Linked DNA regions of Homo sapiens: region 1 is linked to region 2. The links are contacts of gene promoters, found by promoter capture Hi-C in human tissues and cell types (Jung and others, 2019). All regions are on one chromosome and are shown on one strand. The core of a region is centred on a gene start or on the middle of the fragment in contact, and the rest is flanking DNA. Distances in the headings are between cores, read along the strand shown. Region 1 has its middle 23 kb from the start of PAQR5-DT. Region 2 holds the start of KIF23 (kinesin family member 23).

Region 1 (4,154 bases), core at 1,340-3,839, 140 kb before region 2:
CTCACTCAAGCTGGCCGACCAATCAGTCTTTTCCCCAGGAATTCAAAATGGGATGGATTAAAAAACTAAAGCAGAAATACAGTGAAAAGCGGAGATGAGAAACAGAAGACAATGCTCCAGGCCCTGGATCCAATGCCCTTCTGAGGCCAGCTGTATTCCTCTCAGGTTCCGCGAGGTACCACTGTATCCTTAGGATAAATTCTTTTTTTTTTTTTTTTTTTTTTTTTTTTTTTTTTGAGACGGAGTCTCGCTCTGTCGCCCAGGCCGGACTGCGGACTGCAGTGGCGCAATCTCGGCTCACTGCAAGCTCCACTTCCCGGGTTCACGCCATTCTCCTGCCTCAGCCTCCCGAGTAGCTGGGACTACAGGCGCCCGCCACCGCGCCCGGCTAATTTTTTTTGTATTTTTAGTAGAGACGGGGTTTCACCGTTTTAGCCGGGATGGTCTCGATCTCCTGACCTCGTGATCCGCCCGCCTCGGCCTCCCAAAGTGCTGGGATTACAGGCGTGAGCCACCGCGCCCGGCTGGATAAATTCTTAACATTTGCTGAAGTTGGCTGGATTTAGTTTCTGTTACTTGCAACAAATGAGCCCTAATTAATAATGTATCTCCATTATAGAGGAAAATACGTGTAAATACAGTGTAAATTCTGCATTTTCCTCCAATCTGGACCCTGTTGTATTAGCTTGCTAGAGCTGCTCTAACGAATACCACAGACCGGGTGGCTTACACAAGAAATTTATTATTCTCACAATTCTGGAGGCTTGAAGTCCAAGATTAAGATGTTGGTAGGTTTGGTTTCTTCCAAGACCTCTCACCATGTCTTGCAGATGGTGCCTTCTTGCTGTATCCTCAAGGCTGTCTCTCCAACTGTGCTCTCTGTGTCTAGGGCCCACTCATGTGACCTCATTTTACCTTAATTACCTCTTTGAAGGCCTGTCTCTAAATGCAGTCACGTTCTGAGATGCCGGGGAGTTAGGACTTAACGTGTGAGTGGTGAGGGGCACACAATTCAGCCAGTAGCAACCACTCAAAGGGTTGCCATTTAATTCGATGATAATCATTGAAGGACAAAACTGAAATCTGTAGGGAACATTAGTTGGGCAGAAATCTAGACTTGGTACTCAGAATACAGGGCTCCCTGGCTCAGCCATTAGAGCATCAAGAATTTACTCAGGCCAGGTCCGGTGTCTCACGCCTGTAATCCCAGCACTTTGGGAGGCCGAAGTGGGCAGATCACCTGAGGTCAGGAGTTCAAGACCAGCCTGGGCAACACGGCGAAACCCCGTCTCTACGAAAAATACAAAATTTAGCCAGGCATGGTGGTGCGCACCTATAATCCCAGCTACTCAGGAGGGTGAGCCAGGAGAATCACTTGAACCCTGCAGGGAGAGGTTGCAGTGAGCTGAGATCATGCCACTGCACTCCAGCCTGGGTGACAGAGTGAGACTCCGTCTCAATAAAAGAAGAATTTACTCTTTCACCCCATAGACTTCAGTTGCCTCATGGTACAATCCAATAAATAGAGAACTCTGCTCTCAAAGTTTGTAATAAACTAACAAAAGGTAACCACTAAATTTAAGCAGTGGTAAAAACAACAACAACTTCTAGGTTTTTATTCTTCTTACCTGTATGCCTTTTTCATTAGCTCATTCGGAATGCAGAACTCTGGGGTACTGGGAGCGGGTTGGTGGGAAGTATAGACAGAGTATATAAAAGTGCAAGTAGTGGTGAGATTTTGTTTAATGATAATTTTTTAATCCCAAGTCTGCACTATCGTAACTTACAAATAACAATATAGGGATAAAGTATTGATTTTCATTATACCAGCTCATTAAGGATGTCAAACTGAAAATGGATGTGAATGTAAATGTTGTATTGGTGATGAATTTGAATGTTTGCTGCTCAATTTCTGGTGAAAAGAGATACATTTACCATCTGGTAAGAATGATTGATAACTTGCATGCGTATGCTGCATTTCCTGAATGTTAAGTAGCAGCAACACTGTGTAATTTTGCTAATCCTTTTCTAGGAGGATTTCACAAAATGACAGGACTGCAAAGCAAGCCATCAAAGAGCAGTAGCAAAGAGAACAGCAAAAGGGGCGGAAAAAAAGTCCTGTGAAGGACCAGAAATAGAGCAGTGGACAACTGGTATTAAATACACAGTTTAGATAAGATGTTCTTAAGCAACGCAAAGCTCATTGCATCTAAGCTTAACGTCAGAAGAGCTGGTGTCTCCCTGGGAGTTTGCTCTGTTCTGTCAGCACCTAGTGAAATCACTGAGATAAGAATGGCTGCTCCATTTCAGTTCAGAAAATCTAGTAAAGAGAGTTCATCTCTCTGGGGACTACAGAAGGAAGTAAATCTCTGAAGTGGGGTGAGGAAGAGGTCTTGTTTTTAAGCAAACATATAGCAAAGATGCATGATCTTAATTTAATGCCTGTTATTCTGTCATCTTTCCTTTTTAACACCAATGAAGTTAAGTTTCTGCAATTCAGTTGAATACAGTGGGAGGCCCCAAACAGATTCCTATCAATGGCGTGGCAAGGTAGTCTTAGGGAAAGTGTCTGTCTATCTTCTCAGCTACTGCAGGCAACAGAAAGAGGCACTCTCTTCATCTGAAAATATCCATCAGAAGAAATTACCTAGGCAACTTCTTGTGAGCTTGAATTAGTAGGTTTCAGTGTCTGGGGTACTGGAAACCATGGTCCTGGGTTAGTGTTTCTTGCTAATGAGCATTTAGGAATAGGAAGAGGAAACAGGCACCATTACAGGTGCTCCTCAAACTAACTCTCATTAACTGCTCACCATGACTCTGGAAGCCCGACTCCTGGTAGGTGAGAAAAAGAAACACTGCTGCCTAGTGTTCCATTATCGGAATGCTAAGCATGTGGGAGTTATTTACATCCTACTGCTCAAGGTCATCGCCAAGGTCTGATTTTTCATTCGTGCAAAAATTCAAAAAATTGTAACCCCTGGCATAAATGGGTTAAGGAGCTTGCTGAAGTTCGTGCAGTTCTTTTCACTACGTATTTATTGAACACCTTCCTACTGATTGTGCTACCTGCCAAAAGCAAAGATGAGACCTGTCCCTGTCATGAGTCATAACTAGTTAACATAAATAACTGAGTCCACAGCTGACTGGCCTGGAGTGCTCTTCCCTGGGGTAAGCTTTGGATGGCCTTTCCTTTCCAAAATCACAGGCAGAGCAGTGGGGCCAACACGAAGAGCCAGAGTGTCTAAGCTCCCACAGTGGGTCGGGCTCTTGCTAGAAGACTCCACGGGTGTTCTTTCTAATCCTTTTGACAACCTTGGGAGGAAGTCTGTGAACTTCACGGATGAAAAAACAAACTTGGAGAAGTTAACAACTTGCCAGAAACCATTTAGCTATTTGATAAACAAGGTCTCAAGCCCAGGTATGTCTGACTCCAAATTCCATGTTCTGACCCATCGTCCCCAGGCAATAACTATAATCCACTATCTCCTGACTCCACCGTCTACACAGTGGGCTCAACCAGGGAGGCAGATCTCAGCCCCAGAGCTCTCCTACATTCGCCAGGTAAGATAATTAGTCCATTTCATCTGTGGACTCTATATCAGATCTGCTGAAATTGGTATTTGCTCCACTAAATGGTTAGAAAAGCCCAAAAGCAGAGACAGGAAGTTTTTTCAGCAATTGAGTCTCTTAGCATGTGCCTCCATTTCTTCAACTTCCATTGATGTTATTTTTTGAATAACCCAACATAAAAACCCCTCTAGCCTCTCTCCAGCCCTCTCCTGCTATTTGCTCTCTTCCCTAGTGGACTTTCAAAAAGCTGCCTCTATTACAAATTAAAATGTACACAGCGTGTGTTTAATACGTGCAAATACGCGCACACACACACACACAAGTGAATACACAGATGCACAGCAAACAGCCTGCACTGTGCTGGCTGCAAGGGATGCAGTGATGAGTGAGATGAAGTCTCTGCCTTCTGTGAGTCCATGAAGTGACAGCTTTGGGAGGTACACAATTTTATTCTTTGCTGTGAAAAATGAAACCGTTTAAAATTTTTCAAATTCCAAATTAGAGTTTGAATTAATGAGATTCTAAAGAACCTTCCTACGTTATACTTTTTAGCTCATTTCATGAAAATAATGACATATTTTATC
Region 2 (3,833 bases), core at 820-3,319:
AATGAAAAATTTAACTACATGTTTTTTCTCACCAATTGATATGAGATATCAATAGATTGGTAGCTACTGAAAAGTTTGATAACACTTTGAGAATTGTGGAGAAATAGGCACTCTCATACAGGCTGGTGGGAGTGTACATTTGGACAGCTTTTATGGAGAATGATTTGCAATATCTGTGAAATGTTACACATATGTATACTCTTTGACTCAGCAATTCTGTTTCTAGAAATGTTTCCTACATATTTACCTGCATTGTATAAATTTCCACATTCATTCACTATAGCTGTATCTGTAATAGGAAAAGTTGGAACCATCCTAATGTGCAATGTAGGGGTGGAAAAGGTGTGATACTTTTCTTTACCCATCTTAAGGGTCACAGCTGACACTACCATAACAAAAAACAGGTTAGCAAGATAAATGGATAACTTATTGAATCACAGTTTTATGGGATGTAAGTGCCTTCAGAAATGAAGACCCAAAGACCCAGGGAAAGCTGTCCATTTTTATGCTTAGATGAGATGAAGAATGGACAGCTGTGTAGAAATGTGATTGTACAAAAGGAGTATGATCTAATAGTAACAGACTGAAGGAGGAATCCAGCAAGTCCTGTCTGTTCAGATTCTTCTTGGCCTCTCTGTGCAGCTTTCCTTCTTCCTGAGTGTAGGGCAAGACCCTTTTGGAACGAGGGTCTTATGACAAGGTACATCAAAGAATGTCTTTATGGCCAGCTCTTACACAAAAAGGTGGGGGAAGGCTAGATTAATATTTCTAGGTTTTTCTAGAATAATGTTTCTGGCTTGCTTGGGAGAAAAGGGGTTCTAGTTTCCATGACCCGCCTTGGGGAACAGAAATTCTGGTTTCTATTATTTGCTTTAGGAGACACAGAGGGGTGGGAGACAAGAGGGCAGGAGAAAGTCAGAGACAGACTTTGCTTTTAAGGCTTCTCTGAGGCACTTTCAGTCTTCTTTAGTTCAAAGCACTCAGTGTGCCAAAGAGCCATACTCTGGGGTGTCGTTTCCTGAGCACCAACAATATTGGCCAAGGACATTGTGACTATCCTTACCAGTGCTGTGGTCCTTTAGGAAGTTGAGAAGGGGCTAGAGTTCCATGAGAGCCCAGGTGTAGATGTGTATTTGGTAGTCATCGGCTTAGGGTCAAAGACAGAAGTGATATAGAATCAGTTCATCTAAGGCAAGAGTAGGTTCAAAAGGTTGCCCCTTAAGGGTAAGGACCAAATTTTATTCATCTCCGTAAGGCCAGGATCAAACACAATCAAGATTTGATAAAACAGGCCGGGCGCAGTGGCTCACGCCTGTAATCCCAGCACTTTGGGAGGCCAAGGTAGGCAGATCACCTTAAGTCAGGAGTTCTAGACCACCCTGGCCAATATGGTGAAACCTCATCTCTACTAAAAATACAAAAATTAGCTGGGCGTGGTGGTGCGCGCCTGTAATCCCAGCTACTCGGGAGGCTGAGGCAAGAGAATTGCTTGAACCTAGGAGGTGGAGGTTGCAGTGAGCTGAAGACTGCAGTCCAGGCTGGGCGACAGAGCAACTCCACCTCAAAAAATAAAAAAGGAAAAAAAAAAGATTTGATAAAATAATGTACATATAGGACAGAGCTGGAGGGAAACCCAGGAAAGGTGAATCAGAGAGAGAAAAGACGCCAAGATAATGTGGTGACTTGGGAGCCAGAGAGACGGAGCCTGAGACTTGGAGCAGGGCACAGCACAGGAATACAACACTTTTCACCAGAACGACATTCCGACCTCTGAATCAACCCTGGAAAGGCCCTTCCATTGAACTTCTTGTGATGGAGGAAAAGAAACCCTCAGTTTCGTCATCGCAAGGCGGAAGAGTTTAAATACCATACCTCAAGATCTCCCTCCAGCCCTGACACGCGACTCCGCGGCCCTTTCAGCGTCGGTCGCCTAGGAGACAAGCGCCACTTCCGGCAGCGAAGTCACTTCCGCGGAGGTCCTGCCTCTCCCTGCGGACGGGCGCTGATTGGCCCGTTTGAAATGCGCCAGGCGGGAGCTCACCTGGGCTCTTAGCGTCGCCGCCGGCTTCGCAGAGCACCGCGCCTTAGCCGCGAAGTTCTAGTTCTTGCTGCCGGTCCTAACGTCCCGCAGTCTTCGCCAGCCAGCCGTCCCGCATGCGCGTTTGGGCGGCGTGGAGCCTGCTGCCATGAAGTCAGCGTGAGTACGAGGCCGCCGAGCAGGGAGAGAGGGCGGACGGGGGCCGAGGCCTCGGGGCTGGGGGCAGGCGTCTCCACTCAGGCCGCGGCCGTACGCGGGCAGCGCGGACAGCATCCCGCCCGGTGCTGCTGCGGCCGCGACCCCAAAGTGGGAACCTCCACGTGTGGCCGCTCCGCGGGAGCCTGGGCGCGGAGACCCCTGCCGCGTCGCCCCCCGCCGCCCCGCCTGGGCCTCCAAGGGGCCAGGAAGGGTCGGCCCGGAGCCGGGGTTGTTTTACGCCGCACCCGGTTCCCGGGGGCGGGGCAGTCCTCCTCGGGGTCCCGGGACAGCCTTTCCCTTCTCCCTCGCTGGCTGCCGCCGCCTCCAGAGTGCAGTTGGCCAACTTAGTGCGGGTCGGAGGTGGTCTCGTGTGTGGAGCAGAGCGAGTGTGCTGGGCATTGGTTAGATGGGCTCCGTTTCTGGAGAGCCCTGGCACCGGTGATCGCCGCTAGCTTTTTTTTCAGCCGAGCACCCTGTCCTTGAGGCCGAGCCCATCCGCTTACACAGGCCAGTTACTTCTGCTGTATTTTGTGGCCGCAGAGAACCTCCGCCCACATTCCTAAGCTAATATTTTCGGCGCAGCATCATTCCTGGGTAAAGAAATATTTGTCGTGCAAAGGAGAGGATTGGCTTTATTACCATTTAGGGAGTCGTTTGCAAAAGACAACTTGTTTATTAAGAGGCCGAAGTCAAAATCTTTAGATGAAAAAAATTATATATAAGAAATATACGTTGAGTTTAACTTAAGCCCACCACAAAGTATTTTGCACTGAATAACACGAATTTGCTTGTGTTTCATCTGAGAATATGTTTGGAAAAATATTTTTAAACTACAGTCGAAGCCAATAATCTTACTTAATTTTAATGTGTTAAATGTATATCTAGCCTATAGATAAATGTGAAGGGAAAAAGATGAGATGCTAGAGAAATGGTGAAATCAATCAAAATAACTTTTTGATTGCCCCTACTTAAGAAACCAAGAAATTGGCAGTTTGGGACCAGATTTTGTTTGGAGACAAAGAGTAATGTTTTGAGCATTCAATGACTGGTTGTTCCTTGAAAGTACAGGCGTAACCCTTGACGAAAGAATGGTTTCCTCCATGTGCATTTTTATAGTGTATTGAAGTTAATCGCTTGTCAGTCTGTAAAGTGTGGGCAGTTATAATTTGTAGTGCCTCTGTTAAATTGTTGCTCAAGAAAATATGCAAGCCATTTTAAGTATAGAACTAATCAGAGAATAAGTAGGTAGCTTTGGTACCAAAAATGTATTCTAAAGCAAATTTTAATTACTTTTGGATTACGCATGCCACAAACACTCTGCTACTATGATTATTAATGTTATTTGGGATGCAGTGTTTTGCAACTGCTAAGGGATAATTTACAGATAACCTAGAAAGATTGTATAAGTTTTAGGTGAGGCTTTTGTATTCGTGTTGAACTGAAAAAAAAGTTATTATTATTTTTTAATCTATGACCAGGAGAGCTAAGACACCCCGGAAACCTACCGTGAAAAAAGGGTCCCAAACGAACCTTAAAGACCCAGTTGGGGTAAGGTATCCCTGTAAATTTATGTGTGGTGTTTAAGAAACTTATCTCT

Evidence for each region. The method cuts DNA at HindIII sites, captures the fragments that hold promoters and counts their contacts. A contact is called where the count stands out against the background at its distance.
Region 1: a fragment that was not itself captured here is called in contact with the fragment with the promoter of KIF23 in region 2 in 1 of the 25 tissues and cell types used here (mesenchymal stem cells).

Annotation. Positions count from the first base shown.
Region 1 is chr15:69,273,249-69,277,402 of GRCh38, forward strand. No RefSeq gene overlaps it. Among named protein-coding and RNA genes, the nearest start is that of PAQR5-DT, 23 kb to the right of the region's middle. The HindIII fragment of the contact is 5,404 bases long and covers 1-4,154 here.
Region 2 is chr15:69,412,280-69,416,112 of GRCh38, forward strand. It overlaps KIF23 (kinesin family member 23), which reads left to right and starts at 2,070. Exons shown (of 24, transcript NM_001367805.3): 1 at 2,070-2,197; 2 at 3,715-3,784. The coding sequence starts at 2,187. KIF23-AS1 (KIF23 and PAQR5 antisense RNA 1) reads right to left here and starts at 2,750. Exons shown (of 2, transcript NR_132971.1): 1 at 1,873-2,750. RefSeq lists silencers at 2,240-2,359, 2,390-2,469. The HindIII fragment of the contact is 14,046 bases long and covers 1-3,833 here.